2 separate regions of the Homo sapiens genome follow, and region 2 is linked to region 1. Evidence: promoter capture Hi-C in human tissues and cell types (Jung and others, 2019). All regions are on one chromosome and are shown on one strand. Each heading gives the region's core, a stretch centred on a gene start or on the middle of the fragment in contact. The rest is flanking DNA. Distances are from core to core; before and after follow the strand shown.

Region 1 (4,230 bases), core at 611-3,110:
GAGAAGAATTCTATGTCTGAGTCCCTGCCCACCCTGACCAGAACACTGTGCTATTTCCACAGATGGCTGGGAGAGATGCAACATTGCTGCCCCTCAGACCCTAGCGTCAACTGGGAACATTTGAGGAGAAAGGAAATTTGATCCACAACACAGGGTAAGGTGTGTCTTGGGCTCAGAAAAGCACCTTGTCTCTTCCTTCTGGCCATGCTCAGGCTCCATGACCCTTCTGATGGGGTGCTGGGCAGGGATGGAGGGCCCTCCCTGCTTCCTTCCTCCTCTTCCTGAAGCCCTCCTCTGCCTCAGGAGGTGGATCTTTCCCCCTTTCTCCCCCACACAGAGCCTGATTGCTAGCTTGCTTCTCAGGGGGTTGGTGAATAAGCCCTTGGGTGACATTAATTGCCATCAGGCATTAGGGGCCTAATGAGAATAATCTTCTTTGACGACTCCAGCACCTTCTATCCCCAGGGCCTCCAAGAGCTGGCCAGCTCTCCTCAGGCTGCACCTCCCCCCAGCTCCAGACAGATGTAGGGGTGGGGGAAGGGCCAGAGCAGCCCTCTACAGGCCCCAGTACCAAGCGAGGCAGCAACAGCCAGCAGCCAGGGAGGAGGAAGCCTTCCATGAAAAATGCAAGCACATTTTCCAAAAACAAAATGTCACCGTCCTAGATGAAAGGAAACTCTCAGGGTCAAGAGGGCTAGCATGGAGTCAGGCAGATGGAGGGCACGGTTTGAGTGCCCCAGCTGGCTTTGCTCTGACCTGGCCCCACACTCTCACTCCAGTTGAGTGCAGAGGTATGGAAGGGTGACCCTCAAGATCCATATCCTCCCCAGTAGGGATATGTCCATGGGATTGAAGACCCTGTCCCTCCAGAGCAGGGTAGGATTGAAATTCACCCTCTGGGGATTGGAGTTGATACCCAACGAAGCTATAAAATCATTGCCATGGATCCGATGCCTGGTTGACAGATGAGGTGTGAAGGTTGACTTGCCGGGTCTGATCTAGGTTGCACTCTAATGGAAAGGGCCTGATGGTGGGAACAGATATCACTCCAGCCACCCCTCCCGCTAGTCAGCAGGTGCCTGGGTGAGTATGCAAGAGGGGCAGTTCCCCACCCCCACCTCATGCCTCTTTAAAGGCTTGCTAAACAACCTGTAGGAAAGCACTGTCCCCTCCTCTTCTCCGTCTTCCTTCCCCAGCAACAGAATAAATAGGTTTCCCACAGCTGCGCCCCGGACCCATCCCGCACGAAGCTGAGCCCCAGAGCCCCCGCGGCCCGAGAGGAGCTGGGCACAGCAGCGAGGCTGATTCCCAGCCAGTGCCCAGCGAACTCTGGGGGTGGGGGTAGGGTGCCCCCTACCCGCGCCTCTGGAAGAGCGGCTGCAAAACACCTCCGGCGCCCGGTGGGGAGCGTGCATCCTTTGAAAAGGGACATCAGTGACTGCGGTGGCGTCTACCCTGGAGAAACGCAGCTGAGGGAGGTGGAGGCTCCTCCCGCCGCAGCTGGCCGGCCCCATTCGGGTCCCAGCGCTAGCCGGCGTTGGGAAGGAAAAATCAAACATAAAATAGGGGCGAGCGGAATCGCGAGGTCGGCCCTTGGCCCGAGTCTCATTAAGGAGCCGCGCGCGCCGCCAGGCTAGGAATGCGGAATGGACACGTGGACAGAGGAGGGGGAGCTAGGAGTCGGGGAGTCTCCGTGGCGCGCGAGCTGTGGGCCGCGCGCTCGGGGGCCACGTGACCACGGGGAATCTGGGAGGGGTGGGAGTGAGCGCGCCAAGCTCGGCGCCCGCTTCTGCCCGGGTGGGCGCTGAATCCCGGACGGAGGAGGAGGGCGGGCGAGCGCGAGTGTGTGTGTCTCTCTCGAGTCATTTACGGCGGAGCAGCCGGCGCGAGCGCCGAGGAGGCGGCGACGGCGGCGGCGGCTGCTTCGTGCAACTGTGGCTTCCCCCACCTCCTCTTCCTTTTTGCTCCTCGATTCTTCTTCTTCCCCCACACACGTCCATGGGGAGCCGGCTCCCCTGCCAGCACCTCCTCTCCTCTCGGCCCCGTAGGCACCAGCTGCCGCTTCCCTGGCCGCAAGCTGCGCAGGTGCCGGCTGCCCTGGCCCCTGGCGCCGCGCCCGCGTCTCACCGCCCGCAGCCCGGACTGGCGCGGCGATCCGCTCGCCCAAACTGACTCGGAGGGAGCGGGAGCCGATGCCCGGCAGCATCGAGACAGCGGGCGAACGGGCGTCCGGGGACAGGGTGGGGGCGGCGGGGAGGAGGCGTCGGAGACTCTGAACCCCAGAAAAGTTCAAGGTTTGTGCAGGTTCCCCCAGGGAAGGCGAGGAGCGAGGCGGGGCAGCGCGCCTCTCTGCCGAGACAGCGAGACCTTAGCGGGGTGGCCCGGAGCTGCCGTGAGCTGCAGGAGCCCCTCTGCATCTTACAGCGTTTATGGTCATCAAGCTGGAGTCGACGTCCTGGGCAGGAAGGGCTCGGGGCAGGGCGCATTAGCCGGCTTTCTCGCTCCCTCGCTTCTCCAAGCCCCATCTACATGGGGCAGCCCGTTCTGGCCGCGCCACCCTTGCCCCAGCCGCCGAGCGGCTGCCTGGGCAGGAGGCGCTGAGCCGGCCTGTGTGGAGCCTGGGCCCTGATCCAGACTGGAGAAAGCGCGCTGGAGCGGAGGAGCGAGCCTTGCGAGGGGACAAACATCTGGCCGCCCGCCTCGGGCATCCGGTCTGGGCGTCGCCTAGGGTGGTGGCGACCGGCGTCGCCAGTTTCAGCACCGCACGGAAACTTTTCCTTCTCCAGATGGATTAAAGTTGTCTGGATTTTCTCTTTCTTTGAGAAAGACAGCATTCATTTGCACCTGACCTGGGATTTTTATGCTGGGCTGCTGCAGGGGCTTGGAGGAAGAAAGCGGCGCTATCCATGTGCGGTTACTACCGAAACCGAGGAAACTGGGGATTGCGTTGGAAGTCGGCACCCTCGAGTGAGTTCGGATTCGAGCTGGGCCGTGAGGCCGGGAGATTCAGCACTGGGCTCTAGGTAGCCCCCGGGACGCCCGCGGCCACCGGGCTCCGGACTGCACGTGCAGCTCCCCCCGCGCCTCGCAGATCCTGCAGGGGGCACCAGCTGGGGGAGGTGGAGGCTCCTCCCGCCCGGAGCTGCGCCCCCACCGGCTCCGAGGGTGTAGCCGCCAGCGCCTGGGACGCCCCCTCCCCGCAAAGTGTCCCCGAATTGCACTCTCTGGTCCCGGAGCTGCATCTGAGACAGCCGGGCGCCACGGCAGCCCTGAGTTGGATGTGACCAAGCCCAGCCTGGGGCCAAGTCGTCGTCGACTGTTGCTCTCTCGGACCCCTCCCGCCCCCGCCTCGGCCATGGCCCCGGGGATGTCGGGCCGCGGCGGCGCCGCCCTGCTCTGCCTCTCAGCGCTACTCGCCCACGGTAAGTGTCGCGGCGCGGACTGGGGGTGAGGATGCGGCAGGCGCCACTGGAGGGGGTACGGGGAAGACTGGGGAGAGGAGCACCCACACCCCCTGGACTCGCAGCCGCCACTCCGGGTTTGGCGTCTCTGGCTGCAGCTCGAGTTACCGCCAGCCCCCGAGCCCTCCGGCGAGCTCAGCTGAGGGGACCGAGCCCGGCGCCAGAAAAGGGTGGGGGGAGGGTGTCGCTCCAGTCCTCTCCTGGTTATAAAGAAGGGTTCGAACCCGAAGGTCTGGGGTCGTGTCCGCCCACGGAAATCTAGAGGGATCCGAGGGATCCTCCGGATCGCGTCCAGGCCGCCCCCCGCCCCCGTCTCTCCCTGCAGCCGGCCGGGCTGGGGGCTGTTGGGATCCGCCGGGATCGCGTCTTTCCTCGCCCCGGGCGCGCAGGCCGGTGCGGGGCCGCGCCGCCCGTCGCCTCGCTTCCTGCGGCGGTCCTCGGGAAGGGAAGTGGACTGACTCCGGGCCGGGGAGCCGCCGCGGCTCGCACGCCCGCGGTCCTGTGAGCTGCATCTAAATGGCCGGCTTAGGCGAGCCCGGAGGGCGGGGGTCTGGGCACCCGCACAGGCCGGGGCGGTGGGCCGCGGGCCGCGCGCGGAGGGAGCGGGCTCCGCGCTCTCGCATTCTGCAATCTGTTGCGTCTGCTCCCCAGGCTCGCCCCGGGCTCCGCGGTAAAGGGGGTGGGAGAAGGAGGGATTGAGGTTGGCGCGCTTTGGCGGTGGGACAGCGGGCATACGGGTGGGGGGCAGCGGGTTTTTGAACAGCCCCCA
Region 2 (4,230 bases), core at 779-3,278, 72 kb before region 1:
AATAAGAAGGAACAAACTACTGATACCTGCAGCCGTATCATAGATAAATCTCAAATGCATTTTACTAAGTGAAAGAAACCTGACCCAAAAGGCTTTATACTGTATGTTTCCACTTATATGACTTTCTGGAAAAAGGAACACTATAGGGATAAGTACAATATTAGTGACTGTCAGGGAGATGCTTAGGGGAACAGGCTACAAGAGAATTTGGGAGACTGATGACAGTATTCTGTATCATGATTGTGGTGGTGGATTCATGATATTGTGCATTTGTAAAAAACCCACAGAACTGTACACTACAAAGAGTAAATTTTTCTGGATGCAAACCTAAAAATAAATTCTAAGAAAATGAAAACACAAAGCCAAAAAAAGTTAATGTGGCCATTTTTACACGTTAAAATGGCTGCATCAAATGGCCCTAGTCAACTGTTCTGCTTTAGACCCCTCTTCCCTAGATTTCTGTGCATTTCAAGTCTCTGGGATGTAGACAGGAAATTTTTCAGAAGGAACAGAGAAGTTATTGAGGATGCCTCCTCTCTCCTTCATCTTCTTTCATCTCCCATTTAGTCTGTGGAGCAGGTGAGTCTGCAGAGATGGAGAATCCTTCTGCTGGAATAGCCTGAGCAGGCTCTGAGCAGTAAGGAAGTGGCATGCATGGAGCTGGCTGTTCATCATGGAGGTCAAGGGGACCTTGGATTTCCTTCTGCTTTGTCCAGCCTAAATTCTAGAGCAAAGAGGCAAACATGGAGTCAGGACAGAATTCCAGTGCATGTGGATCCTGCTGAGGAAGGAATCCCCTATAAAACACAACAGCAGAGAAAAGGAAAGGAAAGAGGTAGTGTGGCACATAGATTCTCAGTATTGGTACCCATTTTCCAGTTTGGTCTGCCAATCCCATCTTCTCATTTTCTTTCTATGTAATCTTGAGCAAATTGCTGGTTAAGGTAAGTTGTAGTTTTTCCTGGGTTTCTTCCTCTGTAAAACTGGAAAAATAATCATACCTATTGAGATTATTACGTGAGTTAATAGCCATTCATTGACTCAACACGTATTTATTGAGTATCTATTATGCACCTATCACTGTCTTATGTGCTTCACATACAGATAAGAGACTAGAAATTGACAAAATGGGGGATGCCAGTTTATACAGAATAATCAGGGAAGGCTCACCAAGGAGGTGAGATTTGAGCAGAGACCTGAAGGAAGTGAGAGAATGGGCTGGGAAGGGCAGAGGTCCACACAGAGGGAACAGCCTAGGCAGACTCTGAGGCAGGAGCATGCTTGACAGAGCTGAGGAAGAGCCAAGAGGCCAGTGTGGCTAAAGAGGGAAATGCCCTTTTTTTATAGGATAGAAATGAGACCAGAGAAATAGTGAGAGATCGGATAATGAGGGGCCTGGAGATGTCCATTGTCTGTGCATTGTCTATTATTCAGAGTAAGATAAGAAATCACTGAAAGCCTTTGAGGAGTGGCATGATCTGACTTGTGTTCTAAAAGAATCTCTCTGGGCAGTTTGTGAAGAATAGACAGTAGGGCAGCAAGGGCAAAGTCAGGGAGCCCAGTTAGGAAGTTATTGCATGATCCAGAAGAGAGATGATGGTAGCTTGAACAGATAGAAACACATATATAATACTTAGAACAGACCCTGGCACATACAAAGTGCTCAGTCAATGCTATCTATAATTATTATTGCTGGCATCATCAAATTCATCATCATCATCTAGGGTAGGAGGTCAGGAAAAGTCTTAACCATCCTGCGTTCCCAGCAGGAACAAATCCCAGACCCTGCTGAACCCCACATGAGGCTGTGTGAACCTGGGGACCCACTTCGGAAACTCACAGGCTCTGGGTTAAGGTTTCACACACTGCCTCCTCCCTCCCACCTCAGTTCCCTGAGAGCAGTGACAGGGCTTTCTGACACACACAGTACTTTAGTTTGGGGGAAGAAGCAGATGGAAGAAGCCTGGGTGCAGTAGAGCTCCTAAGCAAGGATGGGAAACACAAAAGAAAATAGCCTGGCAGGGCGTGGTGGCTCATGCCTATAATCCCAGCACTTTGGGAAGCTGAGGCGGGTGGATTGCCTGAGCTCAGGAGTTTGAGACCAGCCTGGGCAACATAGTGAGACCCTGTCTCTACAAAAAAAAAAAAGAAATAGCCAGGCACCTGTAGTCCCAGCTACTCGGGAGGCTGAGGTGGAAGGATTGCTCGAGCCCAGGAGGTTGAGGCTGCAGTGAGTTGTGAATGCACCACTGCACTCCAGCCTGGGAGACAGAGCGAGACTCTGTCAAAAAAGAAAGAAAGAAGGAAAGAAAGAAGGAAAGAAAGAAAGAAAGAAAGAAAGAAAGAAAGAAAGAAAGAAAGAAAGAAAGAAAGAAAGAAAGAAAGAAAAGAAAGAGAGAGAGAGAGAGAGAAAGGAAAGGAAAGGAAAGGAAAGGAAAGGAAAGGAAAGGAAAGGAAAGGAAAGGAAAGGAAAGGAAAGGAAAGGAAAGGAAAGGAAAGGAAAGGAAAGGAAAGAAAGGGGCCCAAGCTGAGCACAAGTTGTTGCTGTCTCATGTGGTCATCTCATTTCATCCAAAACGCATTCTGAAGTAGTTACCTCCATTCCTCATAAAAGAAAAGAGGACCTGAGAAAAGTGAACTGCCCAGGTATTAGTAGGAGACCCAGGATTCTGACTTGGGAGCAGTGGAACACCCAAGAACCTCTGTTCCCCAGTGGGCAGCTCAGCCTCCCCAGGTAGATTGTGTACATTCTCTGACTTAGGGCTAAGGGCTCCAAACAGGACTGAGACCAAAAGTCACACTTCTGAGTGCCTCCCCACATCTGAATCTCCAGTACATAGAACCAAGCAGTTCTGAAATCACACTTTCCTTTGCTCCTTTGTTTACAAAGATAAGATGTCTTCTTCTTCATTATAGAAAACAGTGGTTTTTCATAAACTGTTATCTCTATTGGCCATTGTTTTTTACAAACACAACAATGATATGCTCTCACCTGATAGAATTTTCCAAATTAATTTCAGAGAAAACCACCTATCTGTGCCAAGGAACTGAACCTCCAATATTCCTGGAAAATATTTGGCCTTTCCTTTCTAACAAAGAAGCCTATCAAGGCTTTTTCTATCATAGTTAACCTATAAAACATCATGTATAACTGTGTCAAAAAAAAAAACTGAGTATCCTTAGGAAAAAGGCTAATTCTAAAACCAGGAGAAGAAAAAGTACAAAATAAACTAGAAACAAGGAAACTACCAAACATTATCAAAGATTATTGGATTTCTGTCAAAATGTCAAGGGAACCAAAATAACTAGGCTCCCATTGGTCAAAGATGGTATAATTTAAGCATCAATAAGAACAATAACTACCCTGTATTAAAATACATCAAAATGTTTAAATTAGTGAGTTTATTATGATACTTGTTTTGAAAAGTGGCAAATAAAGGGAAAAAAGTCAAACATTTATCCTGCCTTTCCTACACAAATGATACCACTGGGTAACCAAATACTTTATAAGAAGAAATTTATATAGAAGTATCACAGTCCTAATAAATGATAAATAAATAATAACAAATAAATGATAAATGAAGAATGAATAACTGCTGTATCATTTTGTAGCAACTAATGGATTAGTAGAACTAGGAAAGACAACTAGACATTGATACCTCCCCATAGAAGAACACAAGACCACCTGTGTAGTGACCTTGGCAAAAATAAATCAAACCTTAATCTGATCAAGCTTCCAGATATATCCAGCTCCCCACCTATAGGAAATTTAGGGATACAGGAATCCACCATAGCATTCAGTAAAATCAGATTATGGGAAAATCTACAGGAAAAAGGACCCAGCAAGAAGGAAAAAAAGATTGGAATTGGAAGTGAAAACTGTAGATTAAAGGAAAGTTAAGAGACATGCCAATCAAAACAGATAGGTCTTATTGGATCTTGATAATAGCAAGTACAAAACAAAAAAGTCTATGAGACAATGAAGGCAATGTCAACACTGATTAGGTATTTGATGACATTAAGGAATTACTGTGATTTTTTTGGTGGGTGTTTGCATCAATTAGCTATTGCTGAATAACAAACCATCCCAAAATACAGTGACTTAAATATGCAAATATTTTGTCTACCTATGATTCTGCCAGACGATGAATATGGGCAGTGTCACCTAGGATGGCTCATATCTATCCCACATGGTGTGGCTGGGATCACTCATATGCATGGAGCCTCAAC

What was found. The method cuts DNA at HindIII sites, captures the fragments that hold promoters and counts their contacts. A contact is called where the count stands out against the background at its distance.
Region 2: a fragment that was not itself captured here is called in contact with the fragment with the promoter of TMEM132E in region 1 in 3 of the 25 tissues and cell types used here (IMR-90 fibroblasts, liver and spleen).

The regions. Positions count from the first base shown.
Region 1 is chr17:34,577,722-34,581,951 of GRCh38, forward strand. It overlaps TMEM132E (transmembrane protein 132E), which reads left to right and starts at 1,861. Exons shown (of 9, transcript NM_001304438.2): 1 at 1,861-3,422. The coding sequence starts at 3,356. It overlaps TMEM132E-DT (TMEM132E divergent transcript), which reads right to left and starts at 1,648. Exons shown (of 2, transcript NR_160787.1): 1 at 1,150-1,648. RefSeq lists enhancers at 813-1,349, 1,350-1,885. The HindIII fragment of the contact is 28,166 bases long and covers 1-4,230 here.
Region 2 is chr17:34,505,655-34,509,884 of GRCh38, forward strand. No RefSeq gene overlaps it. Among named protein-coding and RNA genes, the nearest start is that of TMEM132E-DT, 72 kb to the right of the region's middle. RefSeq lists an enhancer at 4,126-4,230. The HindIII fragment of the contact is 6,433 bases long and covers 1-4,230 here.